Linked DNA regions of Homo sapiens: region 1 is linked to region 2. Evidence: promoter capture Hi-C in human tissues and cell types (Jung and others, 2019). All regions are on one chromosome and are shown on one strand. The core of a region is centred on a gene start or on the middle of the fragment in contact, and the rest is flanking DNA. Distances in the headings are between cores, read along the strand shown. Region 1 has its middle 14 kb from the start of ZNF268. Region 2 holds the start of ZNF84 (zinc finger protein 84).

Region 1 (4,213 bases), core at 688-3,187, 130 kb before region 2:
GAATGGAAGAAGCAAGTCTTATAAGACCACATATTGCATGATACTATTTACATGAAATGTTCTCAGAAGGCAAATCTGTAGAAACAGTAGCTTATTGGTTGCCTAGTCTGATTACTAATGGATATGAAGTTTTGGGGAGGGGGTATATGAAAATGTTCTAAAAATTAATTTTTTTTTGGAGACAGAATCTCACTCTGTCACCTAGGCTGGAGTGCAGTGGTGCTATCTCAGCTCACAGCAACCTCCAGCTCCCAGGTTCAAGCGATTCTCCTGCCTCAGCCTCCTGAGTAGCTGGGATTATAGGTGTGCCACCATGCCCGACTGTGTGTGTGTGTGTGTGTGTGTGTGTGTGTGTGTGTATTTTTAGTAGAGACAGGGTTTCACCATGTTGGCCAGGCTGGTCTCGAACTCCTGACCCCAGGTGATCCACCCATCTCGGTTTCCCAAATTTCTGGGATTACAGGCGTGAGCCACCACGGCAGGCCCTAAAATTAAATCATAGAGATGGTTGCACAATTCTGTGAAAATAATTTTTTTCTTTTTTCCTCTGTTTTTTTTTTTGAGACGGAGTCTCGCTCTGTTGCCCGGGTTAGAGTGCAGTGGCAAGATCTCGGCTCACTGCTAGCTCCACCTCCCGAGTTCATGCCCTTCTCCTGCCTCAGCCTCCTGAGTAGCTGGGATTACAGGCGCCCGCCACCATGCCCAGCTAATTTTTTGTTATTTTTTTTTTAGTAGAGACGGGGTTTCACCGTGTTAGCCAGGATGATCTCGATATCCTGACCTCGTGATCCGCCTGCCTCAGCCTCCCAAAGTGCTGGGATTACAGGTGTGAGCCACTGCGCCTGGCCTGTAAAAATAGTTTTAAAATGAAATTATATACATTAAATGGTTACATTTTATGATATGTAATTTGTACCTTATGTTTTCACATATCATAGTGCAATGAGGGTTGGGGGAATCTCTGCTAAAGTCAATCATTCAGAGACCCATGTTTACAGAGTCTGTTGCTTTCAGTATATGATTCTGATAGATTTCTTATGTTGAAATCCAGCTTGCAAATGGTGGATGGGAGAGACAGTGGAAGTTATACAGGGTGTTTTAAGCAACTTTCACAAGATTTTTTTAAAAAATATAAAATCAGCTGGGCACGGTGGCTCATGTCTGTAATACTAGAACTTTGAGAGGCCAAGGTGGGGGGATTGCTTGAATCCAGGAGTTTGAGGCCAGCCTTGACAACATAGTGTAACCCCGTCTCTACAAAAAAATACCAAAAAAAAAATTAGCCAGGCATGGCGGTGTGCCACCCATAGTCCCAGCTACTCAGGAGGCTGAGGTAAGAGGATCACCTGAGCCTGGGAGGTCAACACTGCAGTGAACCGTGATCACGACACTGCACTCCAGCCTGGGTGACAAAGTGAGACCCTGTTTCAAAAAAAAAAAAAAAAGATAAAGTCATGACTCTCATACAAACACAAAATAAACATGTGCCGAATATTTTAATTACCTTCTTATTTAATGAGTGTACCAGTAAGCTGTTGTAAATAGTCCAAAGAAGAATTCAAGGAACCACAGATAAATAGGTAAGAAATACGAGGGTGAATTTACAAAAAGATGCAAAACTAAAGAATTGCATTCAACTAGACATAATATATTTGCATTTCTATGGAGAATAATATATTACAAGTTTTCGATAAAGTACAGGGTTGTAAAACATCTCAAAGACAATGAAAAGCAGATATAATATGGAAGAGTGCTTTAAATAATGCCTAGATTTACACTGAAAATACAAAGTAATATTTTATTCATGTCTAATTCTTTTTCAAGTTTCCCTGACAGTCTTTCCCACTTTGTGTAATAATCTAAAGAACGTTCATTCTTCATCACATGGGACATGACTGAAAGCAGTATATCCCATTTTAGCCCATATTCCATGGCCAGAACTTGGTCACTTGACTCCATGTAACTCAAGGTGTGTTTGGAAAGAGTTGCTAATGAGGAAAAAGCAAACAGTTTTGATGAGCACTGGCAGATCCTCTACTACAGAAAGTTGTCACAGTAATCAGGGTGGAATATGCTTATGTCTCAAGCTATTTATTTGAGATATTTAGATTTTCCTGTTGAGTTTGCCATTTATTATTATAAAATTTTCCTATCTCTCATGATATTTCTTGCCATAGTCTGATGTTAATATAGCCATGCAAGCTTTTTTTTTTTTTTGGTTACTGTATGCATGGTATATATTTTTTCCTCTCCTTACATTTCACCTCTATTTACCCTTATATTTAGAAGGTCTTTCTTACATCTGTTCTTTTAAAAATAAATTAAAGAGACAGGGTCTCACTCTATCACGCAGGATGGAGTTCAGTGGCACGACCATAGCTCACTGTAACCTCAAATTCCTGGGCTCAAGTGATCCTCCTATCTCAGCCTCCTAAGTAGCTAGGAATACAGGTGTGCACCTGTATAATATATATTATATAATGTATGCTACATTATATAATATATATAACATATATACCTGGCTAATTTTTTAATTTTTTTGTAGAAATGGTGTCTCCCTATGTTGCCCAGGCTGGTCTTGAACTCCTGGCTTCAAGCGATCCTCCCACCTTAGCCTCCCAAAGCACTAGGATTATAGGCATGAGCCACCACAACCAGTTCTCTTTAAAAATGTTTTTCATAAATCACATTAGCATAAAAATTTCTTGTCATCTATCACTATCAATAAATATATACTAAAGGCCTGAAAACACCCCCAAACACACACACACAGACAAAATAATTGTGAGGGGAAATTAGCCTATGCTTGAAATGCAAAATTCAATATGATGTAAAATTGGCTAATTCTAACATTTTAAAATTACTCTCTTTAAATTTTTAAAATTTCTTTTTATCTCATTGTGGATATATATACATAATAAAAACTTCCATTTTAACTATCGCTAAGCATACAATTCAATGACATTAATTAGATTCACAATGTTGTGTAACCATCACCACTATTTCCAAAACTTTTCCATCACGCCAAACAGAAACTCTGGTACTCATTTAGCAATAACTCCCCATTCCCCCTATTTGCCTGGAAACCTCTGATCTACTTTCTGTCTCCATGAATTTGCCTATTTGACCTGGGTCATATAAGTGGAATCATACAATATTTGTCCCTTTGTGTCTGGTTTATCTCATTTGGCATAATGTTTTTCAGGATCACCTATGTTGTTGCATGTACCAGAGCTTTGGTTCTGTTTTATGACTGATAATCCTGTTGTATACTCCATTTTGTTTATCCATTTATCTGTTGATGGACATTTGGGTTGATCCACCTTTGGGCTATTATGAATAATTCTGCAAGGAATATTGGCATAAAAGTATCTGTTTGACTCCCTATTTTCAATGCGTTGGGGTATATACACAGTGGCGGTATTATTGGGTCATAGGGCAATTCTGTCCTTTCCAAGAAACCACCAAAATGTTTCTCACAGTGGCTGAACCGTTTTACATTCCCACCAGCAATGTACAGGGGCTCCAATTTCTTCACATCCTTACCAAACACTTGTAGGAAAACAGTCTGTTGCCAGTCAAGAGTAAGGCCATCTTGAAATGAAACTGACATAATGACTAATGTTTGAAGCATGCATACCAAGACATTGCTACGGTAAGTTCAAAAAACAATGCCCGTGCCATAGACAATCCCTCATAGAGATGCTTCTCTAAATTCCTATTGGTCATGAGTTTTGCAAGAGAGTCTGAAACATGGCCAGCTGAACATGTCTTAACAAAAAAGCTTGTGATATAAAGAATTCCTTCTGGAGGGTGAGTGCAGTAATCCGCAGTCTCATGGTTGCCCAAGACATCACTTCTGTTTATAAGTCCCTATTGAATGTTTCTGAGAAACTGGATTTATTAGCTTCTTTCTTTGGCTTCTCAGTTCCCTTGGACTGTAGGGGTAGGTTTGAATATACCTGTTCACTGGGGAATAAGACTTAATACTTTCTGCTTTAAAAAAAAATTACACCTATCCTAGAAGATGTGGAGTGGTATCTCATTGTGGTTTTGGTTAGCATTTCCCAAATGACTAATAACTTGGACCATCTTTTCACATGTTTAGTGGCCATTAGCACATCCTCTTTGGAGAAATGTCTATTCATGTCTCCACTCATTTTTCAGTGGGGTTGTTTTTTGAGTTGTAGGAGTTGTTTAAATGTTCCTGATA
Region 2 (4,321 bases), core at 463-2,962:
CAGAAACACACAGCAGTTTCTCCCAGTTATACAAGAAATGACTCCTTTATACCTTAAATTGTGATAATACATAAATCTTAGAACAAAAGCTGGCACACAGTCATACGAAACATATACTAGCTATAATTATTATTATAAAAGTAATATATGATGGCAAAATATAAAAAACATACACAAGCTAAATAAGAACTATTATCTATGATCTCACCACAGGTAACCATTCTTAGGATGATGGAAACTATTGTGATATTTTTCATACAATGGAAGCATATGGTCATATTTAAAAGCTGTTTTTGTTTTTTTCCCATTATGTGAAGAACATCTTTCCAGGTCAATAACCTTATTTCTGTAAGATATAAACAACTCACATAAAATAACAAAAAAATAAAATCCGACTCATAATTGACAAAATACATAAAATATGTAGGAATATCAAGACCCATATGAAGCATACTAAAAACACCAATGAGAACTATAAAAATAGAATTAAAGAAATTTATAATTCGATTTTATTCTGGGATAGGAAGACTTCAGATTGTGAAGATAATTTGACCTCAAATGATTTATATAACTCATCGACTCCAATCAGAATCTCAAAATTCTAAAGTTTATGTGTAAGAAAAAAGGTTCAAGAACAATTCGGACACTTTTTTTTTTTTTTTGACAGGGTCTTACTGTGTTGTCCAGGCTGAAGTGCAATGGCATAACCATAGCTCACTGCAGCCCTGAACTCCTGGGCTCAAGTGATCCTCCTACCTCAACCTACAGAGTAGCTGGGGCTACAGGCATGCCCTACCACACCGGGCCTGGATGCTTTTGGAAATACAAAATAATGAGTGTGAACAGGCCCACTGTAATACATACAAATTATAATCATTATAACATTTGACACTGGCTCCAGAGAAGTTATACAGATGAAAAAAAGCAAACTGTCTAAATATGCAAGAGTCAGCATGCAATAAATGTAGCATTTCAAAGCCATCAGTAAAATTAAATTATTTAATGAATACAAGAATATTTGAAAGAAAATAAACGTAGCTATTTCATACAACTACTTTCAGTGGGTTAAATTTTAAAATAATGGAAACCCTAAGAATGTCTACAAAAAAAAACCACAGGTGAATGAATATATGTATAATTTGAGGGGAGATTTCGCTACACCATACCAAAAGCAAAAGTCACTTAAAAAATTTAAAACAGTCAATAAATATAACCATTAAAAAATACACGGCCAGGAATGGTGGCTCACACCTGTAACCCCAGCGCTTTAAAAGCCTCCTTCGATAGCGGCAGAGCCAGGCTGCTGGTGGATGCGGTCCAGCAGGGCAGCCGCTCCTTAGGGCCACGGCGCGGCAAGCGGGCTGGCCCGAGGTCGAGGCTAAACGCGCCCGAGGCTAAACGCGCCCGAGGCTGGCGCCTCCACGCCCGCCTGAAAGGACGCCCAGGAGCGGCGCCTCCGGAAAGGCCGTGCCCGCCCCACAGCCCAGAATCCGCGCAGCTCCGCGGCCCACGGCATCTTCACGACCCGGCCCAGCCCCAACCCGCCCCAGACCCGCATCCGCGCGCGGACGCCCAGGGCCTTGAAGCCGAAGCTCCCCGCGGCCACTCCCGCGCGCCTCCCCCGCCATTCCCGGAGCCCCCAGCGCCGGGCCCGCAATAAACTCACTGAACTCACAAAAGACGCCGCCGCCGAGTCGCGCCCGCGCGCCCGCGGCCTCGCGATCACGTGACACCGCCCGTCCCCCGTGTCCCGCGCACGCGCCCAAACCGTCGGCCTTTGTGCGCTCCCGGGCGGCTCCGAACGGGCCGGGACGAGTCGGGGACTGCACACGCGCACACTCGCACGCGCGCACACGCGTACACTCCCCTCTCACGTGGCAGCGAAGGACAAAGAGGAAGAACGGGCCACCTGCAAGCATTACCAAGAGTGCATGTGCGCATGCGCGAAGGAAGGAGCCCCGCGAACTCAACTTCCCACAGTGCCCCGCGTCCGGAAGTGCCTGTCGCTTGGAGACGGAGTGACTCCAAACGGGCTCACACGGTTTTCTGAGAAACATAAAGGGAAACCGAATCCACCAATATATATATATATTTTCTTGAGACGGCGTCTCGCTCTGTCACCCAGGCTGGAGTGCAGTGGCGTGATCTCGGCTCACTGCAAACTCCGCCTCCCGGGTTGACGCCATTCTTCTGCCTCAGCCTCCCGAGTAGCTGGGACTACAGGCGCCCGCCGCCACGCCCGGCTAATTTTTTTGTATTTTAGTAGAGACGGGGAGTCACCGTGTTGCCCAGGCTGGTCGCGAACTCCTGAGCTCAGGCAATCCGCCCGCCTTGGCCTCCCAAAGTGCTAGGATTACAGGCGTGAGCCACCGCGCCCGGCCCACCAATACTCAATTGGTTTGACTTCAGTTGAGGAAACCAGAAAAAATTTAAATATATTTATGGAAAGAAGGTAAGAATTAACAGAAAAAAGTAAAGTTGATCCATAACTGGAGTCGTAGGGAGAATTATAGGTAAGTCACGATGCTTATGACAGCAAGATGGGGCCGGGGAGATGGAGGAGAGAGATGAAAAAAGAGAAATAACCATAGACACATAGGAAATTGAATGAAAATCCGCTCTATACTAATAAATTTGATAATTTGTGACACAAATGATTCTCCAGGACAACATGGGCCAAATTTGACCCAATTTTATCCACAATTTGAAGACAAATTCAGAGATCCTTTGCCAGAAAGCATCATAATGAGTTGCTTAGTGAATTGCTTCAAACATCCAGTGATTAGAGAATTCTTATATTTATTCCCAGAGGTAGAACTCACCAGTGAAGTACTAGCATAAAAACAGACGCATGGACCAATGTGGAACAGCGTAGAAAAACCAGAAATAACCCCATGCATATACAGTCAACTAATCTTAGGCAAGTCAACTAATCTTGTGTCAAGAATACACGATGGGGAAAGGACAGTCGCTTCAATAAATAGCGTGAGGAAACCGGATATCCAAATACTGCTACGCAAAAGACCTCATTGCCCGATGTGCACAGAAGCCAATACTATGGCACCAGGCGTTTGAGAAAAGAAAAGCTTAATTGCGAGTTGACCAACAAAGTGACAGGAGTTTAGTTCAAATCTATCTCTCTGTGCTGCCCTTAAGGCAGCACTATTGTGAAAAAAGGTTTAGAGGGTGGATTCTGGGATTCACAGGTGAATGGTGAAGGAAAAAGGAAGTCTGGAAAGTCCCCGACCATGTGCAGTTGTCTCTTCAAGCCTCTTCTTGGGTCCCATGTGCAAATTAAGGTAGAGTTAGTGTGAAAAGTGCAGTGGAAATTCAGGCTGCGACATCAGCAAGCTCATTCTGCATGGACTCCGTTTGGTTATATTGGTTTCAACTGATTTCAGCCAGTTGTATTATATTACAAACGGAGTTTCAGCAAACTGTTTCTTATCTGCCATCCTGTAAGCTCAAGAATTTCTGTTAGCCGGACGCGGTGGCTCACGCCTATAATCCTAGCACTTTGGGAGGCCGAGGCGGGCAGATCACCTGAGGTCAGGAGTTCGAGACCAGCCTGGCCAACATGGTGAAACCCTGTCTCTACTAAAAATACAAAAATTAGCTGGGCGTGGTGGTGCACACCTGTAATCCCAGCTCCTCGGGAGGCTGAGGCAGGAGAATCGCTTGAACCTGGGAGGTGGAGATTGCAGCGAGCCGACATCGCGCCACTGCACTCCAGCCTGGGCGACAAGAGCGAGACTCCATCTCAAAAAAAAAAAATTCGTTAGTCACTGGTTTCTTTAACTATTTGGGGGCATGGTTTCACAACTTCTTCTTCTTCTTTTTTTTTTTTTTTGAGACAATCCCTCACCAGAATCTAGGCCTTTTCTAACCTGCTCCTCCAGACTCTTCCAAACTCTGCCCATTACCCAGTTCCAAAGCCACTTCCACATTTTCAGGATTTATTATTAGCAACAGCCCCACTCCTCAGTACCAATTTTCTGTCTTAGTTTATTTTCTATTGCTGTAACTGAATACCTGACACTGAATAATTTATAAAGAAAATGAATTTATTTCTTACAGTTCTGGAGACTGGGAAGTCCAAGGTTGAGGGACACTTCTGGTAAGGACTTCCTTGCTAGCAGGACTCTCTGCAGAGCCCCAGGTCAGTCCAGGGTGCACACTGTGAAGGGGGATCAAGCAGCCGAGCCCATTTCTCTCTTTCTCTTCCTATAAAGCCACTAATGCCCACCCTCATGAGCTCATCTAATCCTAGTTACCTCCCAAAGGTCCCACCTCTCAATTGCCATAGGCAGCTTTCCCACTC

Evidence for each region. Contacts are between HindIII fragments. The study calls those that stand out against the background at their distance.
Region 1: a contact is called between a fragment that was not itself captured here and the fragment with the promoter of ZNF84 in region 2, in 8 of the 25 tissues and cell types used here (IMR-90 fibroblasts, bladder, dorsolateral prefrontal cortex and 5 more).

Annotation. Positions count from the first base shown.
Region 1 is chr12:133,165,490-133,169,702 of GRCh38, reverse strand. No RefSeq gene overlaps it. Among named protein-coding and RNA genes, the nearest start is that of ZNF268, 14 kb to the left of the region's middle. The HindIII fragment of the contact is 6,555 bases long and covers 1-4,213 here.
Region 2 is chr12:133,034,900-133,039,220 of GRCh38, reverse strand. ZNF84 (zinc finger protein 84) reads right to left here and starts at 1,712. Exons shown (of 5, transcript NM_001289971.2): 1 at 1,676-1,712. ZNF84-DT (ZNF84 divergent transcript) reads left to right here and starts at 1,999. Exons shown (of 3, transcript NR_110091.1): 1 at 1,999-2,452. RefSeq lists a silencer at 1,606-1,785 and an enhancer at 2,006-2,095. The HindIII fragment of the contact is 8,441 bases long and covers 1-4,321 here.